4 separate regions of the Homo sapiens genome follow, and regions 1, 2 and 3 are each linked to region 4. Evidence: promoter capture Hi-C in 16 types of primary human blood cells and fetal thymus (Javierre and others, 2016). All regions are on one chromosome and are shown on one strand. Each heading gives the region's core, a stretch centred on a gene start or on the middle of the fragment in contact. The rest is flanking DNA. Distances are from core to core; before and after follow the strand shown.

The links. Contacts are between HindIII fragments. The CHiCAGO score rates a contact against its expected background, and 5 or more counts as called.
Region 1: a fragment that was not itself captured here is called in contact with the fragment with the promoter of ARHGAP42 in region 4 in 1 of 17 cell types (total B cells); the score reaches 5.4 in total B cells.
Region 2: a contact is called between a fragment that was not itself captured here and the fragment with the promoter of ARHGAP42 in region 4, in 1 of 17 cell types (naive B cells). The highest score is 5.1, in naive B cells.
Region 3: a contact is called between a fragment that was not itself captured here and the fragment with the promoter of ARHGAP42 in region 4, in 6 of 17 cell types (erythroblasts, megakaryocytes, naive B cells and 3 more). The highest score is 12.3, in erythroblasts.

The regions. Positions count from the first base shown.
Region 1 is chr11:100,903,973-100,907,082 of GRCh38, forward strand. The region is part of intron 4 of ARHGAP42 (Rho GTPase activating protein 42); the gene reads left to right. Among named protein-coding and RNA genes, the nearest start is that of SNORD13I, 29 kb to the right of the region's middle. The HindIII fragment of the contact is 4,721 bases long and covers 1-3,110 here.
Region 2 is chr11:100,874,768-100,878,175 of GRCh38, forward strand. All of the region lies in intron 4 of ARHGAP42 (Rho GTPase activating protein 42), which reads left to right. Among named protein-coding and RNA genes, the nearest start is that of SNORD13I, 58 kb to the right of the region's middle. The HindIII fragment of the contact is 5,652 bases long and covers 1-3,408 here.
Region 3 is chr11:100,926,816-100,930,029 of GRCh38, forward strand. The region is part of intron 6 of ARHGAP42 (Rho GTPase activating protein 42); the gene reads left to right. Among named protein-coding and RNA genes, the nearest start is that of SNORD13I, 5.9 kb to the right of the region's middle. The HindIII fragment of the contact is 3,084 bases long and covers 362-3,214 here.
Region 4 is chr11:100,685,757-100,689,098 of GRCh38, forward strand. It overlaps ARHGAP42 (Rho GTPase activating protein 42), which reads left to right and starts at 1,532. Exons shown (of 24, transcript NM_152432.4): 1 at 1,532-2,076. The coding sequence starts at 1,923. ARHGAP42-AS1 (ARHGAP42 antisense RNA 1) reads right to left here and starts at 2,199. Exons shown (of 2, transcript NR_133571.1): 1 at 1,877-2,199. RefSeq lists silencers at 902-1,196, 1,247-1,436, 1,737-1,906 and enhancers at 1,133-1,843, 1,557-1,606, 1,927-2,296. The HindIII fragment of the contact is 7,960 bases long and covers 1-3,342 here.

The DNA.
Region 1 (3,110 bases), core at 579-3,078, 220 kb after region 4:
TATTCACTGGGAGCTGATTAGACTGTGCCCACCAGTTTAAGGGTGGATCTGCCTTCCCCAGCCCACTGACTCAAATGTTCATCTCTTTTGGCAATACCCACACAGACAGACCCAGGATTAATACTTTGTATCCTTCAATCTAATCAAGTTGACTCTCAGTATTAACCATCTCAGATGCTGTCATATGCTTTCAACATCATTTGCTTTCTCTCACAAGGTTTAAAGTGGCATTACAAATATCGAACACCCCCTCTACTTCCTATTTTTCCTCTCTCTTTTTTTTTTTTTTGAGATGGAGTCTTGCTCTGTCGCCCAGGCTGAAGTACAGTGGTGTGATCTCTGCTCACTGCAACCTCCTCTGCCTCTCAGATTCAAGCGATTCTCCTGTCTCAGCATCCCAAGTAGCTGGGATTACAGGCGCATGCTACCACGCCCAGCTAATTTTTGTATTTTTAGTAGAGACGGGGTTTTGCCATGTTGACCAGGCTGGTCTCGAACTCCTGACCTCAGATGATCCACCCGCCTCGGCCTCCCAAAGTGCTGGGATTATAGGCATGAGCCACCATGCCCGGACTCTCATCCCCTCTTTCCTTAATCTCTTTCTTTGTTCACTTTTCTTTCTTTCTTCCCTCTCCTTTCTTTTGTCCTTTTTCTCCTTCAACTCCCACCTGACCTCCCCACCTTTTTTTTGGAGGAAGTGAAGTGCTATGGTTTTAATCTTTTGCTTCCTTAGGTTGCATTTTACTTTGCAAGGAACATGGAACTGGGAACCAGATAGATTTAATTTTAATTATCTGCTGTGCCTGTCATAAGCTCTGTGACCTTGGTCAGATTACTTCTCTCTTCTCTGATAATGTTTTCATGCTCATAAAATGAGGATTTATTATTCTTACCTTGTAGAATTTTATGTGGAGTTCTGGTATGCAAACTACTTTACAACCACTGTTAATTGTTCTCCCAGTCTTGGTCAGCACTGAGCATCAGTACCAGTCACAAAATGGGTATTTACTAAAAGCTCAAGTTAATGAATGAATTAATAAAAATCTACTTGTGAGCCAGGTGTCAGCATACCCTTAGGAAACTTTCTCTTCTCTCCATTCTAATTTTTGTTCATTCTTACCAATTTTTCAACTTTTGTGTTTCTCCTCCTCTCTTGCTATCCCATCTCCATTTTTCTCCTTCTCACTTTTAAAACAGAAATCAATTATTGAAGAATTTAACAATGCCTAAGATTGAAAAAGGAAAGTGAATATATTATTTAGAAAAGTGGAGACAAATGGGAATCAATAGCTTAAAAATTTACAAGTATTTGCCTTCAGGGATCAGAACTTTGGAACAGAGATGGAGCAAGGAGCTGGCTTAATTTATATGCCTTCACATATGATTAGATTATTGAAAACTATGTATGTCTTTAATAATTAACTTCCACCTATGGAAAATGAATATTTAGCATCCTTACAGTAGCACAACCACTACTACTTCAAACATATTTCCCTTCCTGCTACCTTCCAAATATATATCATTTGATTACATTTTTTAAAAGATCAACGCTCATTGTCCACATAACAATATAATTATGGTTCATAGGTGAACCATATCAGATTCTATGATTACTTTTTTTGCCTAATTTTTTGTTTCTTGGCATCAGTAATTGCCTTACTTTCAAATTTTGCTTAATATTCTGTTTCCAAGTACAAGGATATAATTACAAAACAAATCTTGGACCGGACACAGTGGCTCACACCTGTAATCCTACCACTTTGGGAGGTCGAGGCGGGTGGTTCACTTGAGGCCAGGAATTTGAGACCAGCCTGGCCAACGTAGCAAAACCCCGTCTCTACTAAAGATAACCAAAATTAGCCAGGAATGGTGGCGCATGACTGTGTTTCCAGCTACTCGGGAGGCCGAGGCACGGGAATCGTTTGACTTCGGAGGCGGAAGCTGCAGTGAGCCAAGATGTTGCCATGGCACTCTGGCCAGGGCGATAGTCTTAATATGTTTAAACATACCAGATAATACCTTCTCCATTCCATTTGTTTAGAGACATTTCTCCTGTAACTCTCATCTTAGCTGGTTGCTTTAAAGTTCAAAGGCTTACTTGTCCATCTAATTTTCTGGAAGATCATATTACCATGATTTTGGGAGTTCCCTGTGACTCTTAAAACTGAAAAAATTCCTGTTTTTTCAGATCTTTTGCCTAACTTCCTTGATTTATTCCCTTATGTGAGCAGAGCACACCCCTCAGTATTCTCCTGAGAAATGGTACAGAAGCAGTAGAATTTTTGAGGCCTTACACATTTGTAAATATTTTTATTTTACCCTCAACCTGGATTGATAATTTAACTAGAAATAGAAAGCTAGGTTTGAATGAATTAGTCCTCAGAAATTTGAAGGCTATGGATTTTGGTTTATTGCTTCTTTTACGCTGTTGAAGATCCATTATTGTTCTGATTTCTGATGATTTTTATGTAAGCTCCATTTTCTTATGGGTTGCTTTTAGGTTTTCATTTTATCCATGTTTTTTAAACATTTTATGATGACATGCCTTTTGTTTATTTTCTCATTCATTGTACAGTGTACATATTGGGCCATTTTAATGTGGAAACTTTAAAAAAAAATTCATTCTGGAAATATTCCTGAAATTTTTTTTTTGGCAATTCTCTTGATTTTATTATCTCTCATTCAGCAGTTCTATTAGTCAGATGGGCTTCTGATATCCTTCTTTATGTTTTAAAACTCTGTTTTCTGTTTTTAATAGCCCTCTTCCTTATTTACATTTAATTTCTGTAAATTATGTTGTTTTATGTATCTATTTGTTTTAAATTTTTCTACCCAGAACTGTGTTTTGAGATCCATCAACACTTATTATTTCTCTCTAAATTCCGTGTAGCACTCCATAGTACACATCTAATACATTTTATGTACCCTCTAACAAATACCCCATCTCCTTTTCTGTTTCCACAGGTAACAACTTAATGAATATGCTCATTCATGTTTGCTGTGGACATTTCTGTTAGCATCTCATTGAGAGATACACCCAGAAGTTGGTTCTTAGGACACACATATATGTCCCTTAGTAGTGCAATGTTTCCCTCTAAAAAGACTTCACC
Region 2 (3,408 bases), core at 20-2,519, 190 kb after region 4:
CCTTCCCTTTGGGTAGGATAGGCTTATTGCCCCATCTGTGAATTCCACTGTTATTATCCAGTCCCCAAAAGAAGTGTGGCACAGGAGAAAGTGAATCCAGTGTCTTCTGTGCTGTCTTTAACAGTTCTTACTTACCAGCTCAAAGCACGTATCTCAGGACTCAGATGACTCTGTTCTCTTTTACCTCAGGATGAGTTTTCTACCCTGCAGTTAAGGGTGATTTTTGTTTCCATCCTGATTTGCAAATGTTAATTTCTATGTTTTAAGGCAAGGGTTGGCAAACTGCTGACTAAATCTAATCCACTGTCTCTCTCTCTCTCTCTCTCTCTCTCTCTCTCTCTGTGTGTGTGTGTGTGTGTGTGTGTGTGTGTGTGTGTGTGTGTGTGGCTCATGAACTATGAATGGTTGTTACATTTTTATTTTTTATTTTTTGTTACACTTTGATTTTTTATTTATTTTATTTTTTATTTATTTTTTGCTTTTAAAGTTTTCAGACTTTATTTCACAGTGATCAACACAGGAACGTACTGGAGTTAGTAACCCGGTGCCCAGCCTCCCACCATCCGCTTTATCAGGTCCTGTTCCTAGGAGGATTGGGCTAGGGCTGGGGCTAGGGGTGGGGATGGGGAAAGGACGTTGCAATTTAAGGCATTTCTGGCTTCGGAGCCATCCCTGCCACTCCTGCACCTGCCCCTTGACCTTGGTCAGACATTGGCTGGACCCTGGTCATTCTGAGACAAGGATGACCATCACTGACACTGGGGGGAGGGTTTGCAGTGAGGCAGCCCTCAGCCACTCTCGGCCGAGACGGGAAGGATGAGACCCACCATTCCAGGGGTCAAATAAAATCAACACATGAAGAACACGGTTGGTGGCCAGGCCCAGATACCCAGGCAGGCAACAGAGGTCAACCCCATCCCACAGTGGGCTCTTCTCAGTGGCCCGTCACAGGGCCTGGGGTGTGGCAGAGGGACATGGCCACGTCCAGGGTGGCGGGGGGTGACTGGACAGGGCCAGCTGAGGGTAATTAAAGAGTAGCATAAAGAGGGTAAATAAAGAGTAACATTTTTTGACAAGCGGAAACTGTAGAATTCAGATTTCAGTGTCCATAAATAAAGTTTTATTGGAATATAGTGTCTCTTACCTGTTTATGTGTTCTCTGTGGTTGTTATCTTGTTACAAGAGCACAGTTGGGTGGTTGTGTAGGAGAGCATGTGGCCCACAAAATATAAAATGCTTAACTCTTTGATTCCTTATAAAAAAAATTTGCTCACCACTCACTGGACTAAGACCTGAAACAAATTTCAGTCCTTACCTTTGCAAAATACCTTCTCTGGTAGCACAAACTTAATAACATGTGTTTGATAATTTGGCTTCCTATGTTGGAAAACCACAGAATTTACAGCAAGATGAACTTGAATTTGACCTTGAACAAATTTGTGGCTGAAAATAATATTCTTAACACAGACACCACAAATTTTTATTTCAAGTATTTTTATTTTCATGGAAACCTTTTACCTTTGAAGAAAATATATACGTTCTTAGTTTAGGGCTATAGCTTAGCACACAAGCAATATAGAAGAGAAAAATAAAGAATCCTTTTTGCTTCTGTAGTTGGACGTATTTAAATATTTAAGAGAAGGTCAGGTAAAAACACTTTACAATCAGATGCTTTTATTTAGTTTTCAGAACTGCTAAATATGGTGGACAACCATCCTCCCAACAACATTTGTTATTTTAAGTAAGAATGTGGTGAATCTCATCACGGATTTGTCTGTATGCACTGCTTTTACTTTATACAAAATCAGCCAATTAAAAAGAAAAAATTATTTTGTTTCCTTGGGATTGTGCAGATAAGTGAACTCATTTGTTAGCCAACATTATTGAAATCTGTGGGTATGTTTGTGTAGACTCAGCCCTAGAGCAAGCAATATATTTGCAACTGAACACATATATTGAGAGAAATCTGGTAAGCTCTACCATTTATATTCATCATAGTAAACAGCTCACTGACTTTATTAATAGGTTTCACTTAATACAGCTTCTTACTGTTCTGTATTTAGAGTTGATTTTACGTCTTTCTCTTCTATATACAGCCAGTAATAATCTGAAGCCAAATTTAATGCTCTCCAGAGACCATGCAACCCACGTTTGCATCAAGAGCCTGGTGATTTACAGACTCTGAGTTGGAGAGATGACCTCTACAATTACTGTAGAAACCCAGTGAGAAGTGAAGTGAGCTCACTGTAGAAAGATTTCAGGCATTGAAAAAACTTGCCTTATTTGGTAAATGTGGTTAACTGGTCCCAGCTGGTAATACTGGTGAGCTCATTGTGAGATGTATTGTCTCTTAAAGCCAAATTCTTGTATTTTTAAAAATCTGTTAGAATTGGAGTATTAAATAGTATTTGTTCAGTTTTTCTTGATGTTCTAGGAAGTAAATCAAATCAGAAACAATAGAGTTCCATTTTGAAAACTAAAGCTCAGATGCAGTGACACTTAAAATATTCCCAGTATATCTTTTCTTGTCTCTTATGTTGCTTACCTTACTTAGCCTCTGGGGAATTTGGAGTTTAATTTATGCCTTGAAATACAAGACTCCTACGGGAAGCAAATTTATGTGGCCATGTGTGCTTTACTATACTTCTTTGCTCATGTAAGTTTACTCTGTATATTACACTTTCAGGATAGATTCTGTTAATTGCATTTTCTTTAATGACCAGTAGCATTTCATGCTTGTAAATGAAAGACTATGGTTTCTCATGTCTTCTGTAAAATTCCTACCTCAGATTTGTCTGTATCTTGAGTCTGGCTTTCCAGAGATTCAGTTGTTTCAGAGGAAAAAACACAGGGTTTAAGTCAAGGAGAACTTGGTTTGAATCCTGGCTCTGCTGTGTGTGAACTTGATGACTTCAGGACAGCTCCTTAACTGTTGTGACAGTTAAGAGGTGTTACCAGGGTGGGCGCGGTGGCTCACGCCTGTAATCCCAGCACTTTGGGAGGCTGAGGCAGGCAGATCACGAGGTCAGGAGTTCGAGACCAATCTGGCCAATGCAGTGAAACCCCGTCTCCAGTAAAAATACAAAAATTAGCCAGACGTGGTGGCACATGCCTGTAATCCCAGCTACTCGAGAGGCTGAAGCAGGAGAATCACTTGAACTCGGGAGGCGGAGATTGCAGTGAGCCGAGATCATACCACTGCACTCCAGCCTGGGTGACGCAGCGAGACTCTGTCCCAGAAAAAAAAAAAAAAAAAAAAAGAGGTGTTACCTATCCTCAAGTGTTGTGAGATTTAACATATGAATATGGGAATGCCTGGCACAAAAATGGTAATAAATGCCAATTTCCTATTCCTTCTATTTCTTTTTTTCTTTTTTTGAGATGGAGTTTCACTTTTGTTGCCCAGGC
Region 3 (3,214 bases), core at 654-3,153, 240 kb after region 4:
TGAATCCCTTTGTTAGTTGTGGCTTTAAAGCCCTGTGTGGCTTTTTTAAAAACACATTTTAATTTTAGCCTTCTAAATATACACCTAGAGTAAGTTTTGTAATAGCATTTTCATGTTACAGTATTCCTTTTAGAGTCCATTATAGTCTTTCTGTATTAATGTTTAAAGTTAATGCAGAAAATGAAAATAAATCATCATATATAAGCTAAAATATAGTGCTTTTGATGCTCTTCCCTTGGACTGCTAAATTCAATTTAAATTTTTTCGCTGAAGAAAATTTGCCTAATTTGCTAACATGTTATAGCTTGTTATTATCAAGACGTATACTATAAAATACTTTTCAGAGTCTCTAAATTTAAAAAGCTTAAATAATTTTGAGATTGAAATGCTACTGGCTAAGTCTTTTTTAAAAGTCCATCAGCTAGTATATAGATGAGCAGCTTTTGAAAGTTTAACATTTTGATGTGTTTTTCTTTTTCAACGTAATCAGTTAGCTTTAATTTAGTAAAAGTGAAAAAAATAAGGTTAGCATCATTGTTTTTCGAAACTCTGTAGGACTAAAGGTTAAATTTCTATCCTGTTTAAAATCTAAGGGCATTCATTCTTTAAAAATTTAACAACAAAACTTTTAAGTAAAAATAAAATCTGTAATGGTCCTTGGATAAATCTAAAGTTCAGGGTATTGTTATTGAAAATTAGAAATTTGTGATAGAACTTAGTGAACAGAATTTTGTAAAAGTAAGAAAACTGCATCCTATGTGTTTGGTAGAAATCAATCATGTAGCTTCTGCTGGGCTTTATCAGCTTGCTGGTGACAGTACTTTCTCTATTACAATTGAGCTGTAAAGATAAGCTGGCTATTGTCAATGCCTCTGTTCCTTTACCAGGAAAGTGTACCTCAGGCCTCTTCATCTGAATTCCATCCTCTTGAATGCTTACAAATCCATCTTTTCAGGAATTCCAATGACGCTTTTCAGTGCTGAGGCGATGCATGGCCACGGCTTTGTTTTATTAATCAGTGCACGTAATTGTCCATTCATTCATTTGTGCTTCTGTCCTCCCATTTTAAAAGTAGTCTTTTCCAGGCCAGCATTGACTGGCCACTTTCCATTCTTGGCTCTCTTTTTATCTTCAAGTTTCTCATTATTTATTTGATTCGATTTATATATGCTTTCGTTTTCATGCCATGAACTCCTTTGCACATCTATGCATTAGACTTAAAGCAATCTGTAGTCATTTTGAAGGTATCCTTTAAGATGTTTATCTCTAAGTTTCCTCCAGGCAGGGAATTGCAAAGACTACAGATTTAACTCACAGGCCTGACACTTTTACAGTGTGAAAATTGATGCCTTGACTTTGCCCTACTTTTCTAATCTTCTTAGAAGTTTAGATGGCCAAATATGAAGGATGGAACTATATAACATTTTGATTTCTTATAGTGCCTTATGGTGCTTTGTGTTTGGGAAGTATTTATTTTTATTTTTTAAAAACAACTTCAGGCCAGGCATGGTTGCTCACACCTGTAATCCCAGCAAGTTGAGAGGCCGAGGCGGGAGGATTGTTTGAGCCCAGGAGTTCAAAACCAGTCTTTGCAACATGGCAAAACCCCACCTCTACAAAAATTAGTTGGGCATGGTGTCATGCGCCTGTAGTCTTAGCTACTTGGGGGCTGAGGTGGGAGGATCACTTGAGCCTGGGAAGTCAAAACTGCAGTGAACTCTAATCATGCCACTATCCTCCAGCCTGGGTGAAAGGGTGAGACCTTGTCTCAAAAAAGAAAAAAAAAAGTCATAAAGATACAATTCACATACCATACAGACAACTCATTTAAACTATACAATTCAATGGAACTTTAGTATATTCACAGATCTGTGCAACGATCACCACAAAAAAATTTAAAGCATTTTCATCACCTTAAAAATAAACATCACATCCTTTAGGTATCATTCCCAGTATACCCCACAACCATTAATACTGAAACACCACTAATTATTTTCTGTCTCTATTAATTTGCCTACTCTGGGCCTTTCATACAAATGAAATTGTGTAATACGTGGCCCCTTTGGTGATTGACTTCTTTTACTCAGATGCGGTTTTCGAGGTTCATCCATCTGAAAGCATGCATCAATACTTCATTTCCCTTTAGGGCCAAATAACATTTTATTGTATGGATAGACCACATTTTGCTTATCCAAATATTAGTTGATAGGTACCTTTTCACTATTATGAATAATGTTATAAACCAGCGGTCCCCAACCTTTTTGGCACCAGAGACCAGTTTTATGGAAGACTATTTTTCCATGAAAAAATTGGTGAGGAGGGAAGGGTTTCAGGATGAACCTGTTCCACTTCAGATCATCAGGCATTAGTTAGATTCTCATAAGGAGCAGGCAACCTAGATCCCTCGCAGGCACAGTTCACAATAGGCCTCACTCTCCTATGAGAATCTAATGCCAGCACTGATCTGATAGGAGGCAGAGCTCACCCAGGTCTCACCTCCTGCCATGCAGTTGGGTTCCTAACCGGCCACAAATGACCTTTACTGGCCTGCAGCCCAGGGATTGGGGACCCCTATTATAAACGTTCATGTACAAATTTTTGTGTAGATACATGTTTTTCTCTCTCTTGAGGAATTACTGAGTCATGTGGTAACTGTATGTTTCACCATCTGACGAACTACCAAAATATCTGCACCCCTTGACACTCCCACCAGTGATATATGAGGGATACAGTTTCTCCATGTCCCTCACACACACTTGCTATTATCTCACTTTTTGAGTCTAGCTATCCTAGAGAGCTGAACTTAGATTTCACTGTGGTTTTGATTTCGATTTCTCTGATGACTAATAAGAATCTTTCAAATGCTTTTTGACCATTCATATATTTTCTTTCAAGAAATGCCTATTCAATTTCTTTGCCTATTTTTAAACTAGGTTATTTGTCTTTTTATTATTTAATTATGAGTTGTTTATATATTCTGCATACAAGCCCCTTATGGGATAAATGATTTTTGTAAATATATTCTCCCATTCTGTGAGTTTTCTTTCAATTTTCATGACAGTGTACATGAAGCACGAGTTTTTAATTTTGAATATTTGTTCCTTTTCTGTCTTGTAATGGGGTTATTTTAAAAGATTATTTATCTGTTAAGTATGGTATCAGTTTTTCCAACTGGTTGGGTTATTGGAGCGACAAGTAATTTGGTTCTATACCC
Region 4 (3,342 bases), core at 282-2,781:
CACTTGGAGTTAAAATGGCTCTAATAGTGACTGGTCATTTTGCCAATATGGGGCCAAAGATGTGAATATGGATGGAAGGTGTTTTGAGATGGAGTCGTTCTGTCACTCAGGCTGGAGTGCGGTGGAGTAATCTCGTAATCTCGGCTCATGGCAATCGCCGCCTCCCGGATTCCAGTGACTCTCCTGCCTCAGCCTCCCAAGTAGCTGGGACTACAGGCGTGCGCCACCAGGCCCAGCTAATTTTTGTATTTTTTAGTAGAAACTGGGTTTCACCGTGTTGGCCAGTATGGTCTCCAACTCCTGACCTCAAGTGATTCTCCTGCATCAGCCTCCCAGAATGCTGGTATTACAGGCGTTAAGTCACTGCGCCTGGCCCATACTGTTTACATTATCTTATCTGTTTTAGGTTTACATGTTATTTTTAATGTTCCTGTACATTTAAAAAATTGAAACCAAGAATCTTGACTGGCTCTGAAACTTAATTGGGAAAAATGTAAAGCACTTTAGTGGAATTTTTCCCATGATCTGTAGAATAGTTTTTAAACAGATGGTTCATATGGACAAAGCAATGAAAATGCAGAAATTAAAAGCAGATCCTTAAGAACAATATCCGAGTTCTCAGAAATCCTATAGATGATGTCAGGACGAGATGTAAAGCAGTCGTTTCTTTTGCTGTCAAGGTTTTAAGAGAACAGAAATTTATTAGGTGAACCTCCACCGGAGGAAGGATAAAGCCTGTGGGTAGGAGTTAACTATTTATTTCAAACTCCAGTCCACTTCAACAATTTGAAAATTTTCCCGCTCCTAGGACAATTCCATCCAGGTGCCAATAGGAGATACTACTATTGTGATGCAAATAGGTATTCTACTAGAAGTAGGAGCACGTAAGCAGAGTGAGGATGACTTGAAAAATCGTCCCACCTTCCCAGCTATGGAGTGGGGGCAGGGGGAAGAAACACCTCCAGGCTGGATCATTGAAGCTGAGGGGTGGGAGAGCGACGGGACAATTTTTCAACGTGGAATTCAAATGCATTCGGTGGGGAAGTGTGAAGTAAAATCTAAACGAACGCTAGACAGTAGTATCTTCCATCTACGCTTCAAAATACTCAGACTTTAGGGAAACTTAACGTTGGTTTTTCTCCCAGAGAATTGTAGGGAGTGGGTGGAGGGGACACTGTTAGGGGAGGTATATTGGGAGTCAGATCCTTTTGTGGAGCGAGGGACCCCGAAGTGTCACCAAGGGCTAGCCGAAACCAGGGGCCCAAGAGGGGACAGGGCTAACACCCCAGCCAAGGCCGGAGCGCAAGCGCGGGGCTGCAGCGCGGGGAGCCCTGGAGCCCAGTGCGGGCGGACGGGTGGGGCAGGAGGGCAAAGGGGCGAAGGGGCGGGGTGGCGCTGGGTGGGAGCGCGGCGGCGGGGAGGAGGGTCTGGGAGCCCGGGTGCGATTTGCAAGCGCTCTGAGCCTGCGTCCGCCGAGGGGGAGGGTTTCCCCAGCCCGGCCGGAGTTGCGGCTGTGCGCTGCTTCTGGCTCACAACGCCGACGACTGTCAAGAGAGTTGGGGAGTGGAACTGCCGGAAGTGTCTGCGCGCCGTGAGAGAAACTTTCCTGCTCCGGCCGCGGCCCGGAGCCTCGCCGCCCCCGCGTTCCGAACGACGATGCGTCCAGATGACAACAACCTGAGGGGACTCGCGCCTCGGCCCGCCGCCCGCGCCTGCGCTCGCCTAGCCTCGGGGGAGGAAGACTGAGCCCGGCGCAGGCGGCGCGGCGCTCGGGGCCCGTTTCCTCCGCGCAATCAGTCCCCTCGCGTCCCGGCGCCTTCCCCGCGATCGCGCGACCCCAGCGCCCGCCGCGGCCGCCGGCTGCCCCCGCCCTGACCTCCGGCCCGGACGTGTCCGCGGCCGCCGCTGGCAGCGCCTGTGCCATGGGGCTGCCCACTCTGGAGTTCAGCGATTCCTACTTGGACAGCCCAGATTTCAGGGAGCGCTTGCAGTGTCACGAGATTGAGCTGGAGCGAACCAACAAGTTCATCAAGGAGCTCATTAAGGACGGCTCTCTGCTCATTGGGGCGTTGAGGAGTAAGTAGGGCTGGCGGGGGAGTGGACACCCGCATCTGGAGAGTCCCCGCGGGGTGCGGGTCCGAAGGGTGGGTTGGAGGAGTCGGAGCTTCTTTTGTTTGAATGGATTTGGGGACAAAAGCTGAAGAGCTCCCCTGCTGGTGGCCAACAAAGTTTGTTCTTGAGGTGTTCTTTACTTACTCACATGTCTACAGGGATGGGGAAAGTTCTCTACAGGGCACTGGAATATATCCTGAGGAAAGTCGTTCAAAGTCATCTCGTTGTGTAATGCTCCTAGGAAGATGTTGGGGACTTTAATTTTTTTTTTTTAATTTATTGTGTCTATTAATAGTTTGAACTAAAAAAGCCCTTAAGGGGGGAATCAAGAGTTTGTCTTAAAGATAAAATTAGGCTAGTTTAGTGATATTGAAAGAAAATTATTAATGTCTCTCATACGTCAGTGGCTCTTCATTGGACACAGTCATTGAGTTGGCTTTTTAAAAAGCATACATTTGCAGTTTTGCCATTTTGTAAGATAATGGAAGACAGCAAGGCACCAGTGCATTTTAACTCTGCAAGTTTTCTGTGCGTCTTAGTTTTGGTTTGCATTGTGTGGGTGTTGGGTGTGTCATTGGGATGAAAGTTAAGGGGTTAAAGGCCAATCAGAACTTTTGATGATCTGTAGAATATAAAGACTGTTATAGTCTATAATATAGGGCTTCTTCCACCTCCTTTCCCATACACCTCTTGATCAAATTTTCCTTCCTCCTTTTATCCTCTGGATCTTAGCTTTCAATTCCTAAGACCTAAGAGTATCTGAAACTGAAGAGTTTCTCTTACAGAGAATTGAGCACAATTACATGATATGGCTTGTTACCTTTCCCAGGAGGTATTTGCATCTTTTAAAAAATTTATTTTTATTTATTTATGTATTTATTTATTTTCCATCTTCAAAGGAGCCTGTGAAAAGTATTTGCATCTTAATAGAGGCTTCTGGATGTTTTAGCTACTGAAATGAAGCCGTGGAATCTCTGGTCACTTAAAGCTGGGTGAGTGAGGTACTTTCAAAAGGTAGAGAGACCTTTGGGTGATCTAGTTACCCCCAGGACATATATGGGGGCATCATCTTTGTATAACAACATGATAGGGATGTGTGCGCCTAAAACTGAGACAATACTAGTATCGGATCTATATTTTGAAACATGTATTAACAGTAAGGAGAGAGCTTAGCAAGATGTCTTGAAATTAATGTGCTCCAAAATATCTTTTAATCATCCCAAATGTTAA